7 separate regions of the Homo sapiens genome follow, and regions 1, 2, 4, 5, 6 and 7 are each linked to region 3. The links are contacts of gene promoters, found by promoter capture Hi-C in human tissues and cell types (Jung and others, 2019). All regions are on one chromosome and are shown on one strand. The core of a region is centred on a gene start or on the middle of the fragment in contact, and the rest is flanking DNA. Distances in the headings are between cores, read along the strand shown. Region 1 holds the start of LINGO3 (leucine rich repeat and Ig domain containing 3). Region 2 holds the start of GIPC3 (GIPC PDZ domain containing family member 3). Region 3 holds the start of ZNF77 (zinc finger protein 77). Region 4 holds the start of TJP3 (tight junction protein 3). Region 5 holds the start of LSM7 (LSM7 homolog, U6 small nuclear RNA and mRNA degradation associated). Region 6 holds the start of APBA3 (amyloid beta precursor protein binding family A member 3). Region 7 holds the start of ATCAY (ATCAY kinesin light chain interacting caytaxin).

What was found. The method cuts DNA at HindIII sites, captures the fragments that hold promoters and counts their contacts. A contact is called where the count stands out against the background at its distance.
Region 1: the fragment with the promoter of LINGO3 here is called in contact with the fragment with the promoter of ZNF77 in region 3 in 3 of the 25 tissues and cell types used here (heart left ventricle, liver and lymphoblastoid cells).
Region 2: the fragment with the promoter of GIPC3 here is called in contact with the fragment with the promoter of ZNF77 in region 3 in 1 of the 25 tissues and cell types used here (dorsolateral prefrontal cortex).
Region 4: a contact is called between the fragment with the promoter of TJP3 here and the fragment with the promoter of ZNF77 in region 3, in 2 of the 25 tissues and cell types used here (lymphoblastoid cells and mesenchymal stem cells).
Region 5: the fragment with the promoter of LSM7 here is called in contact with the fragment with the promoter of ZNF77 in region 3 in 3 of the 25 tissues and cell types used here (dorsolateral prefrontal cortex, lymphoblastoid cells and mesenchymal stem cells).
Region 6: a contact is called between the fragment with the promoter of APBA3 here and the fragment with the promoter of ZNF77 in region 3, in 1 of the 25 tissues and cell types used here (dorsolateral prefrontal cortex).
Region 7: a contact is called between the fragment with the promoter of ATCAY here and the fragment with the promoter of ZNF77 in region 3, in 3 of the 25 tissues and cell types used here (bladder, lymphoblastoid cells and mesenchymal stem cells).

What each region holds. Positions count from the first base shown.
Region 1 is chr19:2,306,349-2,309,484 of GRCh38, forward strand. It overlaps LINGO3 (leucine rich repeat and Ig domain containing 3), which reads right to left and starts at 1,806. Exons shown (of 2, transcript NM_001101391.3): 1 at 1,728-1,806. The HindIII fragment of the contact is 18,961 bases long and covers 1-3,136 here.
Region 2 is chr19:3,583,675-3,586,937 of GRCh38, forward strand. It overlaps GIPC3 (GIPC PDZ domain containing family member 3), which reads left to right and starts at 1,804. Exons shown (of 6, transcript NM_133261.3): 1 at 1,804-2,148; 2 at 2,821-3,006; 3 at 3,140-3,263. The coding sequence starts at 1,924. The HindIII fragment of the contact is 10,668 bases long and covers 1-3,263 here.
Region 3 is chr19:2,943,180-2,946,463 of GRCh38, forward strand. ZNF77 (zinc finger protein 77) reads right to left here and starts at 1,792. Exons shown (of 4, transcript NM_021217.3): 1 at 1,659-1,792. The coding sequence starts at 1,661. RefSeq lists silencers at 1,488-1,567, 1,708-1,957 and an enhancer at 2,028-2,187. The HindIII fragment of the contact is 6,632 bases long and covers 1-3,284 here.
Region 4 is chr19:3,706,448-3,709,790 of GRCh38, forward strand. TJP3 (tight junction protein 3) reads left to right here and starts at 1,937. Exons shown (of 21, transcript NM_001267560.2): 1 at 1,937-2,114. RefSeq lists enhancers at 1,382-2,045, 2,046-2,707. The HindIII fragment of the contact is 5,666 bases long and covers 1-2,924 here.
Region 5 is chr19:2,326,993-2,330,488 of GRCh38, forward strand. LSM7 (LSM7 homolog, U6 small nuclear RNA and mRNA degradation associated) reads right to left here and starts at 1,594. Exons shown (of 4, transcript NM_016199.3): 1 at 1,569-1,594; 2 at 1,395-1,485. The coding sequence starts at 1,574. SPPL2B (signal peptide peptidase like 2B) reads left to right here and starts at 1,692. Exons shown (of 15, transcript NM_152988.3): 1 at 1,692-1,783. The coding sequence starts at 1,718. RefSeq lists silencers at 599-698, 1,719-1,978 and enhancers at 969-1,028, 1,309-1,963, 1,399-1,448, 1,459-1,508. The HindIII fragment of the contact is 22,122 bases long and covers 1-3,496 here.
Region 6 is chr19:3,760,048-3,763,161 of GRCh38, forward strand. It overlaps APBA3 (amyloid beta precursor protein binding family A member 3), which reads right to left and starts at 1,645. Exons shown (of 11, transcript NM_004886.4): 1 at 1,489-1,645; 2 at 1-254. The coding sequence starts at 217. MRPL54 (mitochondrial ribosomal protein L54) reads left to right here and starts at 2,635. Exons shown (of 3, transcript NM_172251.3): 1 at 2,635-2,771. The coding sequence starts at 2,654. It overlaps LOC105372248 (a long non-coding RNA gene), which reads right to left and starts at 2,593. Exons shown (of 3, transcript XR_936268.1): 1 at 2,511-2,593; 2 at 2,102-2,159; 3 at 1,707-1,807. RefSeq lists a silencer at 1,530-1,847 and an enhancer at 2,509-2,998. The HindIII fragment of the contact is 13,428 bases long and covers 1-3,114 here.
Region 7 is chr19:3,879,277-3,882,606 of GRCh38, forward strand. It overlaps ATCAY (ATCAY kinesin light chain interacting caytaxin), which reads left to right and starts at 1,409. Exons shown (of 13, transcript NM_033064.5): 1 at 1,409-1,732. RefSeq lists an enhancer at 1,084-1,614. The HindIII fragment of the contact is 15,458 bases long and covers 1-3,330 here.

The DNA of each region.
Region 1 (3,136 bases), core at 556-3,055, 640 kb before region 3:
GGTGGGCGGCTTGATGGGGCCCACCCGGGGCCAACTTTGCTCGCAGAGTTCTTCAAGAGGCTCTACCTGGTGACGAGGTAGTGACTCAGGGGGCGCCGGGGAATGACAGTGCTGTGGGAAGAGACATCAAACTGCCTTCTATTCCCACTCAGCAAGGCACCTTCAGGTCCCGGCTTACCCTGGGGGTGGACGGCTGAGGCTGAGGGAGGCCAGGCAGGGCTGCTGCCGTAACCATCGTGACCTGAGCATCTGTTTTATGGTGGCACCACACTGCAGCCGAGGTGGGCAGCATCTCATTTAATCCCATGTGGGGTGGATCTGAGAGAGGGGACGTCATTTGCCGGAAGTCACCGGTGAAGACCAGACAGGCAGGGCAGGGAAGGCTGAGTTGAACCCTCCTAAGCCCCCATCCCACCGCCCGGCTGCCCCCTTCCTGCCACCCCACATCATCGAGATGGGGACAGGAGCTGGGTCTACAGGGGAAGCCCGTGGGTTCTTCCCACTCAGATCCTGTCTCCGACGATGGCTGCTGCTTCGGCTCAGAGAACAGCCAGGGTAAGGCCATGCCGCGGCAGCCCACCCCACACCAGCCTCCTGATAAAGCCAGCACCACCCTCCCTGAACCTGTTTCCAGCCTGCGTCCTCCACCTGACCACTCACACCTCACACCTTCTGCATCCTCTCCAGGCCACTTCCAGGGAGCCCTCCTGGGTTGCTCTGGTTCTCACAGCTCTGTTGTCCCTGAAGGCTCCCCCCAGCCAAGCCCCAGATCGTCCCTCTGCAAATACCACTGCACAGCAGACGCCCGCTCCCCACCCCCGCCGGAGCAAGGGTGTCTGCAGCCTCGCTGCGTCCATGGTTTAGCCAGGGACCGCTTGCTAAAATGCAGCTTCTGGGGCACATCGCCTCAGAAGTTCTGACTCCTCAGAACTGGGGGGGCCGGGACACCGGCACCGTTAGCGCCCCAAGCACACGTTGAGAAACCCAGTTACATGGTGGTCTCCAGCGTAAGGACCCGGGGCTTTTCTTGTGCCCGGACCAAGGCACGAGGTGCTGCTCCCCTAAACTTGTTGAATGGGACTCAGGGCCTCCCCTGGCCAGGCCCCAGAGGCCCGGGAGGTGGCGGCACCCACTCAGGGTGCCCAGGCCCACCATTTCTGGTGCTATTCAGACGCCCCCAGAGCAGGGGGACTCAGCCCTATGCCCCCAGGTCCCTCCCCGCCAGGCCGGGCCGTCAGCTCCAGCGATGGAGCAGGCTCCGGTGTGGACCCCAGATACCCTTTGCGTCTTCCAGCTCCGCACCCCCAGGCTGGACCAGACCCGGCTCGGGGGAGACAGGGCAGGAAGGCGCGGGCTGCAGGCTCTATTCGGACGTTCCCCACACCCCAGACCCAACCAGTGCCCCCTTCATCTCCTCCTGGAGAGGAGCGCATCCTCCCAGCGTCCCCAGTGCCCCGGGGAGATGCCCACCCGATTCCCCGCTCCTTGGCGCCCCAGAGGAGGGGCGGGGGGCCCCAGGGTGGGGAGTTCGCCCCCAAAGTTTCCAGGGGGAGCGTCGGGGGCCTGGCAAGGAGCGATGAGCCCGGGAGGGGTGCGCGGGGCAATTTCCCCCGGCTGAGGATGGGGTCGCGGGTTGGGGGCTTTGGGCGGCAGGGTCGCAGGGTGCAGGTGAGGGGTCCCCAGGTCTGCGGGCGCGCCCCACGCCGGGCCCCGGCACGGCCACTCACCTGGGCGGCTCCGCCGCGGACACGGCGCGGGCTGCGGCGCGGGGGCCGCCCGGAGCCGACACGAGCAGCCGCCGCCGCCGCCGCCGCCGCCGCCGCCGCCTCCCGGGCTCCGCCGTGCGCGCCGCCGCCGCGCGCAACCGCCCGCCGGTCTCCTCGGCGCGCCTGGCGGGGGCGCGCGGGGGCTGCGCTGGGCCGCGTGCGCGGCGGCTGGGGCCGCAGGTGTGAGAGGCCACGTGGGCGCAGGTGCGGGGACACTGGGAGCGCGGGTGCAGAACCCCTCCGTGCGCATCCCGGGCGCTTCGTGTCCGAGGACCTCCTGTCCCCACGGCCTGGGTGAGCCTGCGGAGACGGCCGTGCCGTGCAATAAACGCAGGGGCACCCCAAGTGCAGCAGGTTGTTCCGTGTGGAACCTTCTGGAAGCTACCATCGCCTCCTCTGCCCCCCGTCCCCCACCCCTAGTCCAGGCCGCCACCATCTGCACCTGGACATCTGCCACAGCCCAGCCCAGGCCCATTCCTTATGTGGCCCTCAGAGGAAGCCCCTCAGAGGAAGCTTAGCCACTGGGCTCCAGAACCTGCCGTGATTCCCTATTGCCGTGAGGGTCCCGTCTGCACCCCACCTACCCTGGAATTTCTCTTTCTTTCGTTCTTTCTTTCTTTCTTTCTTTCTTTTTTTTTTTGAGATGGAGTCTTGCTCTGTTGCCCAGGCTGGAGTACAGCGGTGCCATCTTGGCTCACTGCAACCTCCGCCTCCTGGGTTCAAGCGATTCTCCTGCCTCAGCCTCCCAAGTAGCTGGGATTACAGGCACCCGCCACCACGCCCGGCTAATTTTTGTATTTTTATTAGAGACGGATTTTCAGCATGTTGGCCAGGCTGGTCTCAAACCCCTGACCTCGGGTGATCCACCCACCTCGGCCTCCCAAAGTGCTGGGATGACAGGTGTGAGCCACCGCCCGGCTGCCTGCACTGTTTGGTCTGCCGCACCACCTCCTTCCCCCTGGCCTGTCCTCACTCACTCTTTCCCGGGCTCCACCCCCTCAGCCTTCCTCAAACAGGCCAAGTCCCTCCAGTCCCAGGCCTTTGATCTTCGCTGTGCCCAGCTTGGACAGCCTTTCTCTCTGTCCCTCCATCGAGCAGCTTGGAGCCTCTCAGTTTGTCTAATGGGCTTGTTCCCCAATGTGCCTTCCGCCTAGCACACAGCAGCGCACACACCAAGTGCACTGCGAGTGCTCATGGAAAGTTTTTTACCTTTTTTTTTGTCTTTTTTTTTTTTTTTTTTTTTTGAAATGGAGTTTTGCTCTCGTCACCCATTCTGGAGTGCAGTGGTGCAATCTTGGCTCACTGCAACTTCCACCTCCCGGGTTCAGGCGATTCTCCTGTCTCAGTCTCCCAAGTAGCTGGGATTACAG
Region 2 (3,263 bases), core at 554-3,053, 640 kb after region 3:
ATGCCAGGCACTGTGCCCTGGACACTGGGCATGGGGACAGAGCAGGGGAACAGCCCCCACCCTCCTGGAGCTGACATTCCTCCAGTCCTGGGGACAAACAGGACAAAAGATGAAATGAAATATCAGCAGGGGGCTGGGGCTCAAGCCTGTAATCCCAACATTTTGGGAGGCTGAGGCGGGAGGATTCCTTGAGGTCAGGAGTTCGAGACCATCCTGGCCAACATGGTGAAACCCCCGTCTCTACTAAAAATACAAAAAAAATTAGCTGGGCATGGTGGCAGGTGCCTGTAATCCCAACTAATCAGGAGGCTGAGGCAGAAGAATCGCTTGAACCCGGGAGGCAGAGGTTGCAGTGAGCCGAGATCGTGCCACTGCACTCCAGCCTTGGCAAGAGAGAGAGACTCCGTCTCAAAAAATAAAATAAAATAAAATATCTGATATGTCAGATGGTAGCTTTAAATGCTGAAGAGAAGCTGGGCACAGTGGCTCACATCTGTAATCCTAGCACTTTGGGAGGCCAAGGCTGAAGGATGGCCTGAACCTCCTGGTCTTGAGTTTGAGACCAGCCTGGGCAACACAGTGAGATCCCAACTGTACAAAAAATTAATCATGTTTCTAAATTAAATTTTAAAAAACTGAATGCGGCCGGGTGCGGTGGTTCACGCCTGTAATCCCAGCACTTTGGGAGGCCAAGGCAGGTGGATCACCTGAGGTCAGGGGTTCGAGACAAGCCTGACCAACATGGTGAAACCCTGTCTCTACTAAAAAATACAAAAATTAGCCAGGCATGGTGGTGTGCGCCTATAATCCCAGCTACTAGGGGGGCTGAGGCAGGAGAATCGCTTGAACCCAGGAGGTGGAGGTTGCAGTGAGCCGAGATCACGCCATTGCACTCCAGCCTGGGCGACAGAGCTAGACTCCGTCTCCAAAATCAAACAAACAAACCAAAGGCTGGGCGTGGTGGCTCATGCCTGTAATCCCAGCTTTTTTGGAGGCTAAGGTGGGTGGATTCCTGAGGTCAGGAGTTCAAGACCATCCTGGCCAACATGGTGAAACCTCATCTCTATTAAAAATACAAAAAAATTAGCCGGGCATGGTGGTATATGCCTGTAATCCCAGCTACTGGGGAGGCCGAGGCATGAGAATTGCTTGAACCTGGTGGGCAGAGGTTGCAGTGAGCTGAGATCGTGCCACTGAACTCCAAACTGGGTGACAGAGCGAGACTCCAGCTCAAAATAAATAAATAAATAAAAATAATAAAATAAAATAAAACAATGACCTCGCCTAGCAGAGGGTGAGTGCTCCAGCACCCTCAGCTGTCCCTGTCCTTTTTTTTTTTTTTTTTTTTTTTTTTGCGACGGAGTCTCGCTTTGTTGCCCAGGCTGGAGTGTAATGGCGCCATCTCAGCTCACTGCCACCTCCGCCTCCCGGGTTCAAGAGATCTCAGCCTCCCGAGTAGCTGGGATTACAGGCGCCCGCCACCACGTCCGGCTGATTTTTGTATTTTTGGTAGAGACGGGGTTTCACCATGTTGGCCAGGCTAGTCTTGAACTCCTGACCTCAGGTCATCTGCCCGCTTCGGCCTCCCAAAGTGCTGGAATTACAGACGTGAGCCACCGCTCCAGGCCTGTCCCTGTCCTTATTTGTGGTCCCTGTTCTTCCAGGGTCCTGAGCTCAGGCCCCCCCGGACTGCGGGTATCCCCGGGGAGGGCACAGCTGGCCCTGGCAGGGCCCGGACACCTGGGGCCCGACCCACCCCTGCGCACCCCGCGGTGTCGCCTTCCCGGGAGGCTCGGGTTCCCAGATCCCCTTACCCGGGCGTCTCGGCTGTCGCGCCCTGGGCCGGGGGAGGGGAGGCTGCAGGAAGCGGCGGATCCGGCGGCGGCGGCGAGGGCCCGGGTGGGTGGCCGAACTTCTCCCGCCATGGAGGGAGCAGCGGCCCGGGAGGCCCGGGGGACCGAGACCCCGCGCGCGTCTGCGCCCCCGCCCGCGCCCTCGGAGCCCCCGGCCGCGCCCCGCGCCCGCCCGCGCCTCGTCTTCCGCACGCAGCTGGCGCACGGGAGCCCCACGGGCAAGATCGAGGGCTTCACCAACGTCCGCGAGCTGTACGCCAAGATCGCCGAAGCCTTCGGGATCGCGCCCACCGAGGTAAGGAGCCCGGACACCGGCGCCCAAGACCACCCGCCTGATGGGGTGAGGGGTAGGGAGCTTGGACCCTGGACGGGAGACCCCAGATCCCCGGATCCCAGACGTCGGGGTGGCCGCCTAATCGCCGGATCTCAGAGACCCAGCCCTCAGATCCCGGGGTGCCACACTCCCAGGGGCCCCCTTTGCACGCTCTGCGCAAAAGATGGGCAGGTCTTAGGACTAGCGGACCCCTAGATATTCCAGAAAATCCTCTGCGCAGACCTAGCTTGGAGCGGACCCCAGCCCTCGGGGAAGCGCCTCTGTGCTTCCTGGGCGTAGCTGGGGTCTGGGGTTCCAGATGGCCCCCTTAGGGATGGGAAGTTTGAGGCCGCCGTGGGGTTGGGGGGTTCCTGGGCGTTTTTCCAATCCGGGTTCGTTTGGTTTGCAGCCCCCAGGGGGCGCCAGCAGATTAAACCTGGAGGTCTGGGGGCTGGAGGTCCCGGGGTATGGAGAGGGGTCTCCACCTGCTGGAAGTCTCCTTCTCCCTCCTCTCTCTGTTCTGGGGGTCCCACGCCCTGCCCTTTCCCATGGGCTGGGATCCTGGTCGCTGGGGGCAGGGGCCTGCGCAGACAGGGTGGCTGCGTGGGGGGATGCATGCCCTGGCTAACTCTAGGCTCCTTCTCCCCCGGGAAGATTTTATTCTGCACCCTCAACAGCCACAAAGTGGACATGCAGAAGCTCCTGGGGGGTCAGATAGGCCTGGAGGACTTCATCTTTGCCCACGTGCGAGGCGAGACCAAGGAGGTGGAGGTCACTAAGACAGAGGATGCTCTGGGGCTGACCATCACGGACAACGGGGCTGGCTACGCCTTCATCAAGGTGCCCGGGAGGGGGTGGGCGGGTGGCTTCCTGGGGTCCAGCAACTGCCCCCCCCACTCTGGGTCGACGTGGGTTCTGCGGATTGGAGGCGGGTGGCTGGGGTTGCCCTGCCAGCGACGCTGGATCCCTGCAGAGAATCAAGGAAGGCAGTATCATCAACCGGATCGAGGCAGTGTGCGTGGGTGACAGCATCGAAGCCATCAACGACCACTCCATTGTGGGCTGCCGCCACTACGAGGTGGCCAAGATGCTCCGGG
Region 3 (3,284 bases), core at 542-3,041:
TCAACTGTCCCCATGCCCCTGTTGCTTATACCCCCACCCCACTGCAATAGAACCTCAAGCCTCTGGCATTACTCTCCTGCCTCTAATCCAACTAACCCTTCTCCCTATTGCAACAGCCCCTTCTCCCCCTCCCCCAATACCTCGCAATAATCCTTTTTCATAAAAGTTTCCTTACTACGTTTGGGTTTACACAAGCTTGACCACATGTTCGCAGCCTCCCGTTTCTTCCCCAAACTTTACTCAGCCTTCTGTCCTCTCCGCAGGCCCCTGAACTTTGGCCCCCCCGAGTCTGAGCAAGCAGTAAGTGTGGAGTCCCCTGTCACCTCCCCTGAGCTAGCTGACCACGAGGAGGTACATTTACTGTCAACCTCCTTTCTGCTTGTCCCCTAAAACGTTCCTCCAAACCTTTTCTTGTGTATGAAAGTAAAGCCTTTTCCTGGTTGATTTTGAGACCTGGCAGGTTTCGGAGGCTGGGGCTTATCCCTATTTTTCTCTCTCCTTCTCTAGCCAGGATTTTTTTTTTTTTTTTTTTTTTTGGTTTTTGTTTTTGAGACGGAGTCTTTCTCTGTCGCCAGGCTGGAGTGCAGCGGCGCCATGTCGGCTCACTGCAAGCTCCACCTCCCAGGTTCACGCCATTCTCCTGTCTCAGCCTCCCTGGTAGCTGGGATTGCAGGCGCCCGCCACCACGCCGGGCTAATTTTTGTATTTTTAGTAGAGACGGGATTTCGCCATGTTGTCCAGGCTGGTCTGGAACTCCTGACCTCAGGTGATCCGCCCGCCTCGGCCTCCCAAAGTGCTGGGATTACAGGCGTGAGCCACCGCGCCCGGCCCAGGATTTTATTATTTGACAGGCTCCAGGACAGGGCACCACCTCCTCCTTGGCAGACCTTCCCAAACTGACCACCAAGCCCCTGACGGCTCCTGCCCTCTCCTCCCACTCTCCCCGATCCCCTGACTGCCTCTACTGTCCCCCAACACATCCCTCGAGCCCGACTCCCTTTACTGTCCCCCCAAACTTCCCTCAAGCCCCTGATCGCCTCTACTGCCCCCCTTAAAGTGCCCCTGAGCCCCTGACTGCTTCTGCTGTCCCCTCGAGCTGCCCCCAAACTCCCGACTGCAGCTACTGTCCCCCTAAACTGCCTTCGAGCCCCTGATCACCTGTCCCCCAAAACTGCCCCTTCAAACCCATGACCGCCTCTACGGCCCCCTCAAACTGTCCCCGAGTTCCTGACCGCTGCTATTGGCCCCCTAATCTGCCCTTGAGCCTGACTCCCTTCCACTGAACCCCCAAACTGCCGCCGAGCCCCTGACCGTGTCTGTTCCCGCAAACTGCCCCTGTGCCCCTTAAACCTCTACTGTCCACTTAAATTGCCTCAAGCCCCTGACCACCTCTGCTGTCCCCACAAGCTCTCCCCAAACTCCTGACCTGTACTGTCCCCAGAAACTACCCCTCGAGCCCCTGACCGCTTTTGCTGTCACCCCAGACTGCCCCCAGCCCTACCCCTCGGCCGCTGTGACCACGTCCCCGGGGCCCAGGCGCTCGTCGTGCGCCGCCCCGCGCGTCCCTCAGCTTTCTCCGGCTGCGAACTCGGGCGGAAGCCGGTTCCTGCCGCCCCACCTCGCCCTGGGCCCGGGCTCGGCTCCCGCCCGGCACTCACCATGTCCCGCCCGCTCCTGGGCTCTCCAGGGTTAGCGCCCCGCGGTCCAGCGACCGGCGCAGGTGAGCACGACAGGACACCTGAGCCGCTCGGGGTAGGCGGGGAAGCGCGCAAGGCAGAGGGGAACTCGGCTTACCGTCCTCGGGGTCTGATTGGACAGATCTCGGGAAGTGGAGACTCTGATTGGACAGTGCTGTCGACTCCGCACCCCTGATTGGAGAATTCTCCAGTCCGTCCCCCTAGCGCCCTTGATTGGGCAGGGCTCCGCTTCGGATTAACGTCTCTGATTGGACAGTTCCCTAGGCCCCGCCCCTGCCTGTCCTGATTGGATAATTCTCTCCTCAGTGACGGGCTCGTCGAGAACACGCGTGGCTGACCCTCTAGCCGGGCAGCCGCGGATCTGGGAGAACTCACTCCAGTCCAGGGAGGGCGCGGCGTCCTCCTCCCTGACTGCACGGCAACTCCAGACTCAGTTTCCCCTCGGAGCGGCCCCTCGTGCGGGGAGGAGAGGAAGGGCACGGAGTCCCATGGGGCGGAGTCCTGCGTGGGGGCGGGACCCGCGTGCGTGACGTCACCGTGCTGTCCCGCGTGGGCGCGGACGCCTGGGGTCCAGAGACCTGGAGATCTGGAGACCAGACGACGAGGCCCCAGGAGGCCGGACCCCACCAGGCGCTCCCTGTGTTCTTAAAACTCTCGGCCGGGCGCGGTGGTTCACGCCGGTAATCCCAGCACCGTGAGAGGCGGAGACCGGCGGATCATCAGAGGTCAGGAGTTCAAGTCCAGCCTGACCAAAATGGCGAAAACCACTTCTCTCCTAAAAATACAAAAATTAGCTGGGCACGGTGGCGGGCGCCTGTAATCCCAGCTACTCCGGAGGCTGAGGCAGGAGAATCGCTTGAACCCAGGAGGCGGAGATTGCAGTGAGCCAAGATCAGGACACTGCACTCCAGCCTGGGCAACAAGAGCGAAACTGAGTCTCAAAAAAAAAAAAAGCAGCCCTCCCACAAACAGAACCACGTAAGGTCATGAAGAGAGAGGTCTCACATTTATATGCTTAATAACGAAAAAGACTCTACAAAAACCACAGGCTTAAACAAAAAATACTTTTACAGGGACACTCAGACTGGTGTGACCCTTGTTACTGATCTTTGTAGACAAGGATAATTATTTCTGAAAAATGATGTAATCCTCATTTAAAATTTTTTTTTTCCTTTATAAACCTTTGTCCCAGTCTGGGCAACATGGCAAAACCCCATATATACAAAAAATACAAAAATTAGCTGGGAATAAAGGAGTGTGCGCCTATGGTCCCAACGACTTGATAGGCTGAAGCAGGAGGATCGCTCGAGCCCGTGGGGATTGAGGCTGCAGTGAGCTGTGATCTCACCATTGTACTCCAGCCTGGGCAACAGAGACCCCCGTCTCAAAAAAATGAAAACCAAAAACAACCTTTGTCTTCCTTTACCTCCCTGAATAAGCACATAGTTTGCTATGCCGCGCATATTCCCACTGCAATGAACTGTTACCACCGTTTTTAGACAGCCTGTTATTTAGGTCGACACAGTAAAAACATGAATTACGACAATTATGTTTGTATGTAAAATGGCAAGCGATATAGAGTTTATA
Region 4 (3,343 bases), core at 687-3,186, 760 kb after region 3:
CCAGCGTCTTGCTCTGTCTCCCAAGCTGGAGTGCAGTGGCGCGATCTCGGCTCACTGCAACCTCTGCCTCTGGGGCTCAAGCGATTCTCCCGTCTCAGCCTCCTGAGTAGCTGGGATTACAGACGCATGCCACCTTGCCCGGCTAATTTTTGTATTTTTAGTAGAGATGGGGTTTCACCATGTTGGCCAGGCTGGTCTCGAACTCCTAACTCAAGCAATTCTCCCACCTCAACCTCCCAAAGTGCTGGGATTACAGGGGTGAGCCATTGAGCCCAGACTTAATTTTTTAAATTTTAATTTTAATGTACTGGTAAAGATGGGGGGGTGTCTCACTATGTTGCCCAGACTGGTCTCGAATTCCTGGCCTCAAGTGATCCTGCCACCTTGGCCTCCAAAGTACTGAGATTATAGGTGTGAGCCATCATGCCCAACCCTTCCTGGTTAATTTTATTTTATTGAGATAGGATCTTGCTCTGTCACCCAGGTTGGAGTGCAGTGGCACAGTCATAGCTCTCTGCAGCCTCAACCTCCCAGGGTCAATTGATCCTCCCACCTCAGCCTCCTGAGTTTCTGGGACTACAGGTGTGTACCACCACATCTGGCTAATTTTTAAAAAAGTTTTCTGGGCTGGGCGTGGTGGCTCACGCCTGTAATCTCAGCACTTTGAGAGGCCAAGGCAGGCGGATCACCTGAGGCCAGGAGTTCAAGACCAGCTTGGCCAATATGGTGAAACTCCGTCTCTACAAAAATACAAAAATTAGCTGGGCATGATGGCTGGTGCCTGTAATGCAATCCCAGCTACTCGGGAGGCTGAGGCAGGAGAATCACTTGAAACCGGGAGGCAAAGGTTGCAGTGGGCCGAGATCAAGCCATTGCACTCCAGCCTGGGCAACATAGCAAGACTCTGTCTCAAAAAAATAAAAAAAAAATAAAATAAAAACAAAAAACAAAACAAAACCAACAACAGCCAGCAGCAACAACAAAAAAACTTTTCTAGGCCAGGCTCGGTGGCTCACGCCTGTAATCCCAACACTTTGGGAGGCCGAGGCGGGCAGATCACTTGAGGTCAGGAGTTTGAGACCAGCCTGGCCAACATAGGAAAACCCCGTCTCTACTGAAAAAAAAAAAAAAAATTAGCTGGGCGTGGTGGTGCACGCCTGTAATCCCAGCTACTTGGGAGGCTGAGGCAGAAGAATCACTTGAACCCAGGAGGCGGAGGTTGCAGTGAGCCGAGATCGCGCCACTGCACTCCAGCCTGGGTGACAGAGGGAGACTCCATCTCAAAACAAACAACAAACAAAAGATATATAAAAATTTTTCTAGAGATGGGTTTCACCGTGTTACCCAGGCTGGTCTCAAATTCCCAGGCTCAAGTGATCCTCCCACCTCGGCCTCCCAAAGTGCTGGAATTACAGGTGTGAGCCACCACACCTGACCCTTTCTTGTTTTTTAGATGAGGACAGCAAGAAGCCCCTGTAATTTGCCCAAAGCCACACAGCGGGGAAGTGGCAGAAGCTTCTGTACGTAGGAACCCAGTCACTTCGTAGCAGAGAGGCAGACTGCGCACAGATCTGCGTGGGGAAGGGAGTGCGCCAAGCCACAGCCTGATGGGCCGGCGTGCCTGGCAGGAGGCTCAGCAAGCACAGAGACTGGGCAGCTCCAGATGCAAGAAGCAGGAGGGAGGGGGACTCCGGGAGTGCGGTCCATTCATGTCTGAATGTAGCCAACGAGGGTTTCCTAAGCACCTACCATGTGCGGACGCTTGATACCAGGGCCTCGGCGGTGAGGGCACAGGCAGGAGCAAGCTCACCTCTGGGCAAGCAGGGGTTAAGGCCAGTTGCTCCCACGTGAGGGCACCTTGCGACAGAGCCACACACCCAGTCCTCCTGCTGGCCCGCCCCTCACCCTGGTCCGTCTCCCTGTGTCTGTGGTCGTCAGTTCCACTGGCAGGGGACCTGCCTCCCTGTTGCCACCACAAGAGAGGAAAAGTTGGTCAAACAGGTGGGGAGGCCAGAGCTACAAGCCTCGGGTTCCCTCCCCACCACCCGTGCCAGGCAGGCACCCGGGCCCTGGCACCTGCTGCCTGCCCAGAGGCCACCCAGCCTCCTAGACAGGTAAGTCCCCCGCCCCACTGTGCTTTTCCACCCAGTGTGCATTGTCTGAGCTGGCCTTCCCCAGCTGAGGGTCCTTAGACTCCCCCCCAACCTCCCCCACCACGAGCTGTCTCCCCGGCTCCTCGGAAAGCAGGAAACTGACACTCCTGCGTGGGCATCTGACATAGTTTCGTAGGGATTATCTGACCGGCAGTTACTGCACCTGGCGGCCTGCCCAGGACGCTGAGCTGGAAACTTAAAAGGGTCATTGTTACCTAGGTGGCGCAGGGACCGGGGAGGCGGCAAAGGGGCACAGGTTGGTCTCTGATCCCCCTAACTGAGGAGGGGAGGGGATATCAGTCCAGACGGAGCCTGGGTTTACCTCCTGCAGCCCGAGGCTAGGAGGTGACAGGTGGGAAAGGCTGCGACCTCACTCATCTCTGAGCCTCCTGGAACTTCTTAAAAGGCTCCCAAGTTTTGAAACAACTGCGTCTCCCGCCCCCCAACCCCTCACCCTGTTCTCACCGCTGGAACCTCCAGGAGCTTTGCAGGGAGGGATTGGGGTGGCCTTTCTTTTGCTAATTTTTTTTTTGAGACGGAGTTTTGCTCTTGTTGCCCAGGCTGGAGTGCAGTGGTGCGATCTTGGCTCACTGCAACCTCTGCCTCCACCTCTGCCTCCCGAGTAGCTGGGATTACAAGCGCCCACCACTATGCCCAGCTAATTTTTGTATTTTTAGTAGAGATGGGGTTTCACCATGTTGGCCAGGCTGGTCTCGAACTCCTGACCTCAGGTGATCCAACCCCCTCGGCCTCCCAAAGTGCTGGGATTACAGGCGCAAGCCACTGCGCCCAGACTTCTTTTTCTAATCTTTACTCCTCCGAGCAAAATCTCTGTGGGATGGGGCAGAGGGGAAGGAGGAAGGAGCGCTCAGAGCCAGAGAGGGGAGGGGTCGGCAGCAAAAGTGTTTTTCTGGGTCATTTGCTCCCAAATGGGAAGACCAAGGGAGCTTCCTCGTGAGCCAAGTGTCCGATTGCATCTCAAGTCTCTCTCCAGAACCAAGAGGGTCCCCCGGGGCCGAGGAGGCATGGATGATCGCATAGTGGGGGACAGAGCGGCCCGGCATTTGGGGTCACCTTGTGGCTGTGTGGCTGCAGAGCTCCCAGGGAGCAGGCTTGCTTGAGATTCGGGAGTCCGTGGGGGTGGGCGACATGGATCCCACCTTGCCTGGGTTTTGAGAGCAAACCCGTGG
Region 5 (3,496 bases), core at 344-2,843, 620 kb before region 3:
CAGAAGAAGACCCCAAGATGATGGACCCCAAAAAACAACCCTCAGTTACAACCTCCTGAGAGCCCTTGAGGCTGTGGTACCCTGGCTCCTGACTCACAGATCCTGTGAGATAATAAAATGGTGCTGTTTCAGCTGCTAAATGGGTGATTTGCTATGAAGGGCAGAAAACAAAGGGAAGCAGTGTGACCAGCAAGAGCGGCCGCTCACTCATGTCCTTCCATGTCCGGAGTCAGCATGGTGTAGACTGAGAAAACATTTTATTCATATTCCTTTTTCTTTTTGTTTTGAGACGGAGTCTTGCCCTATCGCCAGGCTGGAGTGCGGTGGCACAATCTCGCCTCTGGGGTTCAAGCAATTCTCCTGCCTCAGCCCCCCGAGTAGCTGGGACTACAAGCGTGCGCCACCATGCCCAGCTAACTTTTTGTATTTTAGTAGAGACAGGGTTTCACCACGTAGGCCAGGATGGTCTTGATCTCCTGACCTCCTGATCTGCCTGCCTCGGCCTCCCAAAGTGTCAAGATTAAAGGCATGAGCCACTGTGCCTGGCCTCCTTTTTCTCTTTTGAGACTGGGCCTTGCTCTGTGGCCCAGGCTGGAGTGCAGTGGTGCGGTCATAGCTCACTGCAGCCTCAAACCCTAGGGTGAAGCCACCCTCCTGCTTCAGACTCCCAAATTGCTGGGATTACACACGTGAGCCGCCCCGTCCGGCTGGGGCACTGTGATTTTTAATAACTCTCATGCCACCCAGTTGTCTACAATCCAGGGACAAAGAGGTTTGGGTCCCCGTCTTACAAAAAAAAGAAACCAAAGATCCAAGAGGCTATTGAATAAGTGACGTGTTGTCTGACTGCTTACTTCCTGCTGAGAGCTGCCTCAATTACATTACATGCCTGTAACCATTCATTCTCACCACCCCCTGTGAAGTGGGTGGAGTTACCAGCCCCATTTGACAAATGAGGAAACGGAGGCTAGGAGAAGGCAGCTCACTTGCCCAGTCAAAAATGCTAGGCTGGGCATGGTGGCTCATGCCTGAAATCCCAGCAATTTAGGGGGCTGAGGCAGGCAGATCGCTTGAGGCCAGGAGTTTGAGACCATCCTGGCCAACATGGCCTCTCTACTAAAAATACAAATATTAGCCGGGCGTGGTGGTACACATTAATTCCAGCTACTCGGGAGGCTGAGGCACAAGAATCACTTGAACCTGGGAGGCGGAGGTTGCAGTGAGCTGAGATCGCACCACTGCACTCCAGCCCGGGTGACAGAGCGAGACTGCGTCTCAAAAAAAATAATGAAAATAAATAAAAGAGGTGCTTCCGCATGCGTCCTCATCATCTCTGTTGCTGGGTTTATTTGAAATTTTTAAAGAGGGGGTACCGACAGCGGGAGCCTCCTCACCTTCGCGGCCTCCCTGGAACTTTACCCGGATCGTCTTGTCGATGTACTTGGACAAGTCCAAGATGCTCTCCTTTTTCTTCTTCTCCTTATCCTGCGGGGAAAGCAGAGCGCATGAGACCTGGAGCGCGGCCCGAGCTCCACGCCCCCCGGCTCCAGATTCCGCCGCGCGCTCACCGCCATCTTGTCGCGCCGTGTGGCTCTTCGCAGGCACCGCCCCGCGCCCTTTGACCTCCCCCACGCGCATGCGCGGCGCATGCGTGGCCCGGGGTCTCGGGGCGTTGCTGGGAAACATCTGCCGTTGGTTGCGGCGGGCACCGGCCGACATGGCGGCAGCGGTGGCGGCTGCGCTGGCGCGGCTTTTGGCGGCCTTTCTGCTCCTCGCGGCCCAGGTGAGCGCGGCACCGGTCCCGACGGCACCGCGGGCTGCGGCCCTTCGGCCTCTCTGTCCCCGGGCTACGCGCAGGAACGACCCCGCTCGGCCCGTCTTGGGGGTCCAGCCTCGGGGATCCGCCGTCCCCGCGTTGTCGGCCGGCGGTGCCGGGGCTCGGCCGTGACCTTGCGGGTCTGTCCCCGGCTCCTCTCCTTTCCCCGCCTCGGAGGCCCTCCGCCGCTGCAGCGCCACTCACTTCCCACCGGGTCTGAAATTTGTGCCCCCTCCATCCTCCGGTTCTGCTTCTCCGTTTCGGGGTCTCCAGTTGCCGCCGGGGACGCCTCTCTCCGGCTCTGTGGCCTTGAGCAGGCGGCTGCCCACCCCTCTCCGAGCCTCAGTTTCCCCTTAGGCGGAACGGGCACGGTGCTAAGCTAACCTCACCCTAGGGGGTGCGGTGGGGGAACCCAGAGGCGTCCCGCGCGTCCCCCAGTAACTGGCAGCATCCTGGAGCGGCCAGGAGTCCAGCCCTGCACTGGGGTCGGATCCCCGCTCCATCTTTTACTCCGTGACCTTGGACGATGGAATTCGTGTGCAGAAGGAGGACCGACTATGGTGTGGATTCTGGAGGTTCTGTCCAGGGTGACCAGCGCCCAGGGCCAACAGGCCTTCATTATGTTCATTGTGTGTCATTTGATGTAAAGAGTGTCAGGTTCTAGTGGGGACAGTCTACGAGATCGCACTGTCATAACTGCATCTTTTATTTTCTTAATTCCAAATCTTCCCTCTCTCCTGAGTTCGGTGGCTCAGGCAATGGAACCTGGAGCAGCCCCACAAATGCAGCCCTTAACCTTCACTACCCCCTCAGAGTTCTCACTCTTAAGGCGTCGCCGCCACCTGGCTCCTCAGTCTCCACTCCTCCAGCCCCACCGCTATCCCTCTGCTGTGGCTGCCTTTGTCCACCACATCCCCAGTCCATCCTCGACACAGCAGGGGTGACCCTTTCAAAGTATGTCAGACCGTGTCGCATCCAGATGAGTGCGCCGTCCAGTTGTGACCTGGCTGCTGGGGAAGCCTGCAGCTCATTGCAGTCGCTTCACTCTCTAGTCTTTTCTCTTACCCTGAGATGCCCCTGGTCTCTGCAAGGCTGTCGGGCCCCCTCGGAAGCTTTCTGAGAACCCCAGTCCTACCCCCAGCTGCTCTGTCAGCCCCCTTTGGACTCCCCCCATTCTGCAGCCAGGCACCTAGAGCTCCCCAGACATTTGGAAGGAGGGGGAAAGCCAGAGGTGGAAGAAAGATCACAGAACTCTGTGGAGAGAGGGACTCAGTTTGCCTGGGAAGGCTTTTCCGAAGCAGATCTATTTTTTTTTTTTGAGACGGAGTCTCGCTCTGTCGCCCAGGCTGGAGTGCAGTGGCATGATCTAGGCTCACTGCAACCTCTGCCTCCCGGTTCAAGCAATTCTCCCACCTCAGCCTCCCGAATAGCTGGGATTACAGGTGCATGCCACCACTCCTGGCTAAATTTTTTTTTTTTTTTTTTTAGTAGAGACGAGGTTTCACCATGTTGGTCAGGCTGGTCTCGAACTTCAGACCTCAGGTGATCCACCTGCTTCGGCCACCCAAAGTGCTGGGATGACAGGCGTGAGCCACCGTGCCCGGCCCCGAGGCAGGTGTTCTGAATGATGAGTAGGAGTTTGCCGGGTCGGCAGGAGGGGAAGGGTGTTGGAAGCACCAG
Region 6 (3,114 bases), core at 395-2,894, 820 kb after region 3:
CCACCAGATCGCCTGGCAGAGCTTCAAACTGCTGCACCAGCTCCTGAAGGCTTGACTCATCAAGTTCCATCCGACTGAGGCTGCCGGGGCCTCCTGGCATAGGGTCCCACTGGCTGTCAGGGGTGAGGTCCTCCGAAGGCACAAGAATGTCCCTGGGCCCCTCCAAGTCCATGGCTGGAGGCCCCGAAGGGGATCGGGAAATTGTGGGGAAGTCCATGCCTGGACTCCAGGCTTAGGCCGGCATCTTCAGGCAGCTGAAAGAGAGAGAGTCAGCACTGAGGTTTCGCCCGGGTGCAGTGGCTCATGCCTGTAATCCCAGAATTTTGGGAGGCCCAGAAGGGCTGACTGAACCCAGGAGTTCAAGATCAGCCTGGGCAACAGAGCAAGACCCTCTCTCTACAAAAAATACAAAAAATTAAGGCCGGGCACAGTGGCTCACGCCTGTAATTCCCAGCACTTTGTGAGGCCGAGGCGGGCAGATCATGGGGTCAGGAGTTTGAGACCAGCCTGACTAACATGGTGAAATTCCGTCTCTACTAAAAATACAAAAAATTAGCCAGGTGTGGTGGCAGGCACCTGTAATCCCAGCTACGCAAGAGGCTGAGGCAGGAGAATCGCCTGAACCCGGGAGGCGGAGGTTGCAGTGAGCTGAGATCGCGCCATTGCACTCCAAGGTGGGCGACAGACGAGACTATCTCCAAAAAAAAAAAAAAAAACTAGCTAGGGGTGGTGGTGTAGGCTGTAGTCCCAGCTACTTGGGAGGCTGAGGTGGGAGGATCACCTGAACCAGGGGAGGCAGAGGCTGCAGTGAGCCTTGATTGTGCCACTGCACTCCAGCCTGGGTGACAGAGTGAGGCCCTGTCTTAAAAAAAACAAACAAACCCGAAAAACAAAAAACTTGAGGTTTCCCGGCTGCCTATCCGGTGCTAGGCTCTAGCTGGGTACTGTTCATACAGGGCACATAATTTAATACCCACTAACCCTTGCAAGGAAGTTAGGATTCCCATTTTACAGATGAAGAAACTGAGCCACAGAATGGGGAGGTGTGAGGCAGTGGCTTCCCGAGCCCCTGTGTCATCCCAGACCTCTCTCAACTAATGGAGTCTGTTCACTCCAGCCCTGGTTCTTCCAGGTCCTCCTCCCTCAAGACGCGGAACCCAGGCTGGAGACCCAGACCTCACACCCTGACTCTACCGACTGGTCAGAGGCAGTTCCCCAAGACCCCAGACCCAAGACCCCAGTCCCATGACCTCAACCCCCAATACCTCCATCCAGAACTTTAGACCCAGGACCCTGGACTTAATACCAGAGACCCAAGACGCCATAAGGCGGACCCCAGTCTCCAAACCTCCAATGCTACCCCAAGATCGACTCCAGACTCAGACCCCGACTTCAGGACCCAGCCCCAAGCCCAGACCCTAGTCCCCCCTCAGACCGAAGACCTCAAGCGCCGACTCAGACTGCGCTCTGCACCTCGAGGACACTCACTTCCCAAATCGAGGCCGCCTCAGCCCCGCGCAGCCTCCAGGACCCCGCTCCCCACGGACGGCCCCGACGTAGCCCGGGCCGCGTCCCCAGAAGGCGCAGCTCGGGGATTCCCGGTCCCGGCGCCCGCTCCTCTATCCGCGCAGAGCCCTGGCCCATTGAGCATGCGCGGCCTCGCGAGGCCTGCTGGGAAATGTAGTTCTCCCACCCAGCCTCGCCACGCGGGGGCGCTGGGACAACTGCAGATGTTGGAGGGGAGTTCGAATCCCAGGCTTCCCGGCCCGCAGACTGCCCCGGCTGGCCCCAGGACCTGTTTGTTCTCCTGCAAAATAGGGTTAATAATCACTGCCTGGCTCTGGGGGCTGTGTTCATTATTCCAAAGGATGGCAGATGGGGAGAAGTGGGGTTGGGAAATATTAAAGAAGTGTGAGAGGTGGTTTCCTTGGGACCTTGAGGCACCGGAAGCGTCGTGGAGACCCTGTTAAAGACGGACTTTCGGTTTGGCTCACAGTAGGGAGACACATAGGTGCACCATGGATTTGGGGTCGGCCTGGGAACTTTACCTCCCTGAGAACTCAGTTTCCTCATTATAAGCTGGGGAAAAAATAGTACCTACCTCTCAATTGTGAGGATTAAATTAGATCAAGCGGGTTAAGGATTTAGCAGTAGTAGAGCTGGAAAAGAATATATAAAATATATATTATTAATTTATATATTATATATAAAACATACTATATATTATATGTATTATATATGTTATATATAATTTTAAAAATATAATGTTATAAAAATTAACAGTGATTAGACTCCAGCCCTACTGGAGTATATTAGACTCATTGTTAATCTTCTTTTTTTAACTTTAAAGCTTTGAATAATTACTCATTGGATGGAATCAGGAACATATAAAGTGTGATATTTTTAGTAAATGTTATGTAATTGAAGAAGGGCAAGAAGTCAATGAAATATCCCTTGAACGCCTCCTCCTATAGTAACTGTGTATGTCTACAAAAGTCTGAAGAAATCACCATAGATTATGAAAGCTTGGGAGACCGCATTTCCCAGACACCTCCACGGGGCCTACACTTCCACGGGGCCTACAACTCCCAAACACCCTTGGGCCACTGACGTCTTCCGGAAACGTGCACTTGCAAGCTGCCCGCAATACGTCATGGCGACCAAACGCCTTTTCGGGGCTACCCGGACGTGGGCCGGCTGGGGGGCCTGGGAGCTCCTAAACCCCGCCACTTCCGGAAGACTCCTGGCCCGGGATTATGCCAAGAAACCAGGTGAGCTGGGTTAAGAGGAACCAAATGGGGACGGTGGGTGCACTGAGGAATTGACAGTGCGCAGGCGGTGGTTGGGGAGGTGGTGCTAGAACTGATGCGCAAGCGCAGAGAGGCGGATGCCAGGCTGTATGCGCAGGCGCAGTTTGAGGGACCCAGCGCCGCTTGGAGCTCGGGCGTCTGGCTCGGAGATACTGTAGCGATTGGACCCAGGGCGCAGGCGCCAGCTTGGGGCGGAGCGGCCTGGGAGGAGGATGTGGTTACGTGGAGACCACGCGTTTCACTGCGCAGGCGCGGGTTGGAAAGGATTTGAAGGGAGTCTGGGGAGGTCATGAACTTGGGTTCC
Region 7 (3,330 bases), core at 159-2,658, 940 kb after region 3:
GTCAGGAGTTCGAGACCAGCCTGGCCAACATGTTGAAACCCCGCCTCTACTAAAAATACAAAAAAAAAATTAGCCAGGTGTGGTGGTGTGTGCCTGTAATCCCAGCTACTTGGGAGGCTGAGGGAGGAGAACCACTTGAACCTGGGAGTCGGAGGTTGCAGTGAGCCAAGATCGCACCACTGTACTCCAGCCTGGCAACAGAGCGAGACTCCACCTAAAAAAAAAAAAAAAAGAAAGAAAGAAAGAAAGAAAGAAAGAAAGAAAGAAAGAAAGAAAGAAAGAAAGAAAGAGAAAGAAACACATAGGGAGCTTTTCTTGTGCCCCAGCACTGTGTTTAGTGCTGTCTATGCATTATCTCATAATGTGGAAAAGCCATAGCGGCTCCATTTCACAGATGAGAAAAACTGAGGCCCGCAGGTGAGATCACTCATGCCCACTGGTCTGCCAGCTGGGGAGTGGCTGGGCTAGAGTTCAAACCCACTTCCAGTCCGACTGCACGGCCTGCACTCTCCACCCTACCATCTTCCACAGTCTCCTTGAATTCCTCCAGGGCGAGGCCACGCCAGCGCACAACTGCAGGGGGCGCCGTTCCCACAGCAGCCCTGCAAAGTGAGTGTGCCTGAGAAACTTCCGCCTCCCCTGCACCCAGCCCTGTTTAGGGCACGAGGCTGAATCAATGGTAAGTGACCATCTAATGGACCCACAACACGGTGACCTGGGGACAGTCATTTCTTTCTTTTTTTTTTTTTTTCTTTGAGACAGAGTCTCCCTCTGCCGCCCAGGCTGCAGTGCAGTGGCGCCATCTCGGCTCACTGCAACCTCCGCCTCCCAGGTTCAAGCGATTCTCCTGCCTCAGCCTCCCGAGTAGCTGGGATTACAGGCGCACGCCACCACGCCTGGCTAATTTTTGTATTTTCAGTAGAAACGGGGTTTCACCATGTTGGCCAGGCTGGTATCGAACTCCTGACTTCAGGTGATCCTCCCTCCTCGGCCTCCGAAAGTGCTGGGATTACAGGCGTGAGCCATGGCATCCGACCTGGGGACAGTCATTTCTTTGCCTGCACAGACTTTTTGGGGGATGCCACCCCTCACCCCTGCTCCCTTTGCAAGGAGAAGTGCCAAGAAGACCTTTCCCAACTCCCCCACCCCCCATTCTCTAAGGAATGAGGCCATCTTGCCATTTATTTATTTATTTGTCCGTTGTTTTGTTTTTAAATCTCTGATGCGCCATCAGAAAATTATTTCTGCCTCTGCCCCTGGCGTGGCTTTCGGAGATGCTTGTCTGTCAGCCAATGGGGAGGATCGGATTCTGGCAGGGGGCTGTGCTTTTCCGTCAGGCCGCCACCCCCCACCCCCTCCTCCCTGCACACAAAAGCAGCATAAATTAACCGTCTTCGGGAAGCCGAGCCTCTGCCAGCCCTGAGCTGGGAAGAAGCAGCTACCTCGGAGGCAGGGCGCGCAGGCGGGCGGCGATGAGAGGGGGCGCAGCCGCAGCCCCGCGCTGGGGAGCCCACCGCTAACCCTGCACCCCACCCACCCCTGCACAAAAGAGCTGGCGGGCGCTGGCCACGTCGCCCTGGGTGACCTTCCTCGGATGCAGAATCCGCCCCTGCGAGCATCCTCTTCCTCCTAGGCTCTGAAGGCCCGGGGAGCGTGAGCGATGCCCAGCTGCACCCGGGCAGGGCTCGCCTTTGTTTGCCAGTAAGGAGGAGAGGCTGTCTCAGCTGCAGAGGTGAGTGCGCGCATCTCCCCTTCTCCCAGGATAAACCGTCTCCCTGGAAGGTTTATCCGGCAGCCTTTGCCGCCTCTAAATCCCTTTCCAGCAGATGGGGCGGGTGGGAGCAGAGAGCCACGGTCTTGTGACTCCGTGAAGGCCCTCACATCCCTGTTCCCGGTACCAGGGAAAACCGTTCCCTGAGCTGCGCCCAGCAACACAGTTTACCTTCCGCGCGCACCGTTCCCCTCTAAGTGCACCATTTTCAGGACACGCTGAGAGCTCGGGCGGATGAAAACCTCAGCTTCTCTCTGGGACGCTGAAATAGACCCATCCTAGCCCTATGTATTTCCTATTTATAACGCTAGGAAGGCCACCAGCCGACGATTTCGGGAAAAAAAAAAAAAAAAAATCTAAGTGTGTCGATAAAGGCTGTCCTGTGGGGTGGGGAGGAAGGGGGTGGTTTATGGTTTAAGACACAGATGCCTCCTCCTTATTGGAACTCGTATGTGATTTGTTAATAATCAGACATCAGGGCTCAAATGAGCGCTTCACTCCCGTTCCTTGATGTCACTGTCTTCTTTTGGCCGTCCCCAAATGCGAAGCCAGGATCTGAGTGCAGGAGTGTCCGGGGCCCACTGAGGACCCACCCCACCCCATCCTTAGAAGACTGTGGAGTCAACGCCTGTGGCTGCAGCTGGCAGGGGGTGGGGGTCGGGGGCGGGGCTGGTGGGAGTGTTCCTGGGGGCTGAGGTCACACCCAGCTCAGTATAAGGAAGGGAGAGGCGAAGACCCCTTCCTCCGGAGAGCAAATGCGTTTCTACTGCCGAGGAGAACTTACCCTCGCGGGAAGGGCCTGGCTGGCTGCTGCCACCGCCCCCCCCCCGACCCCATAGCATCCAGGAGGGATTTTTTTTTTTTCCATGCTGCGTGTTACTGTCCCTCCTCCAAGCATGAATGACGACATTGAGGACAGAGAATCGAGTGAGAAACGCTCACCCTGTACGGGGGAGGGTCTAGTTTTAGCCGTCCCCTCCCCCCACTTCCTCATCTGGCTGAGGCTGCCTCTGGGTCCTTCCTTGCTAAGCCACAGTCCCCTGTCCCCGATGCAAACCCGATATCTATGCTGGGGGGCTGCAGGTAACCTACTCCACAGAGAGGCAGCCTGGATGCCATGAGAGTTGGGGGCCTTAGATGCTTCATGTATTTGGTTTTTTTGAGACAGGGTCTTGCTATCTTGCCCGGGCTGGTCTTAACCTCCTGTGCTCAGGCGATCCTCGCAAAGTGCTGGGATTACACGTGTGAGCCACTGCCCCCAGCCAGATGCTTTATCTTTTATTTTATTTTTTGAAGTAGGGTCTCTGTTGCTCAGGCTGGAAAGCAGTGGCATGATCATAGCTCACTGCAGTCTCGACCTCCTGGTCTCAAGCGATCCTCCAACTTCAGCCTCCTGAATAGCTGGGACTTCAGGCACCAGGCACCCATCACCATGTTTGGTTAATTTTTGTATTTTTTTTTTTTTAAGAGATGGGGACTTGCTATGTTGCCCAGGCTGGTCTTGACCTTCCAGGCTCAAGCGATCCTCCTATCTCAGCCTCCCAAAGTGCTGGGGATTA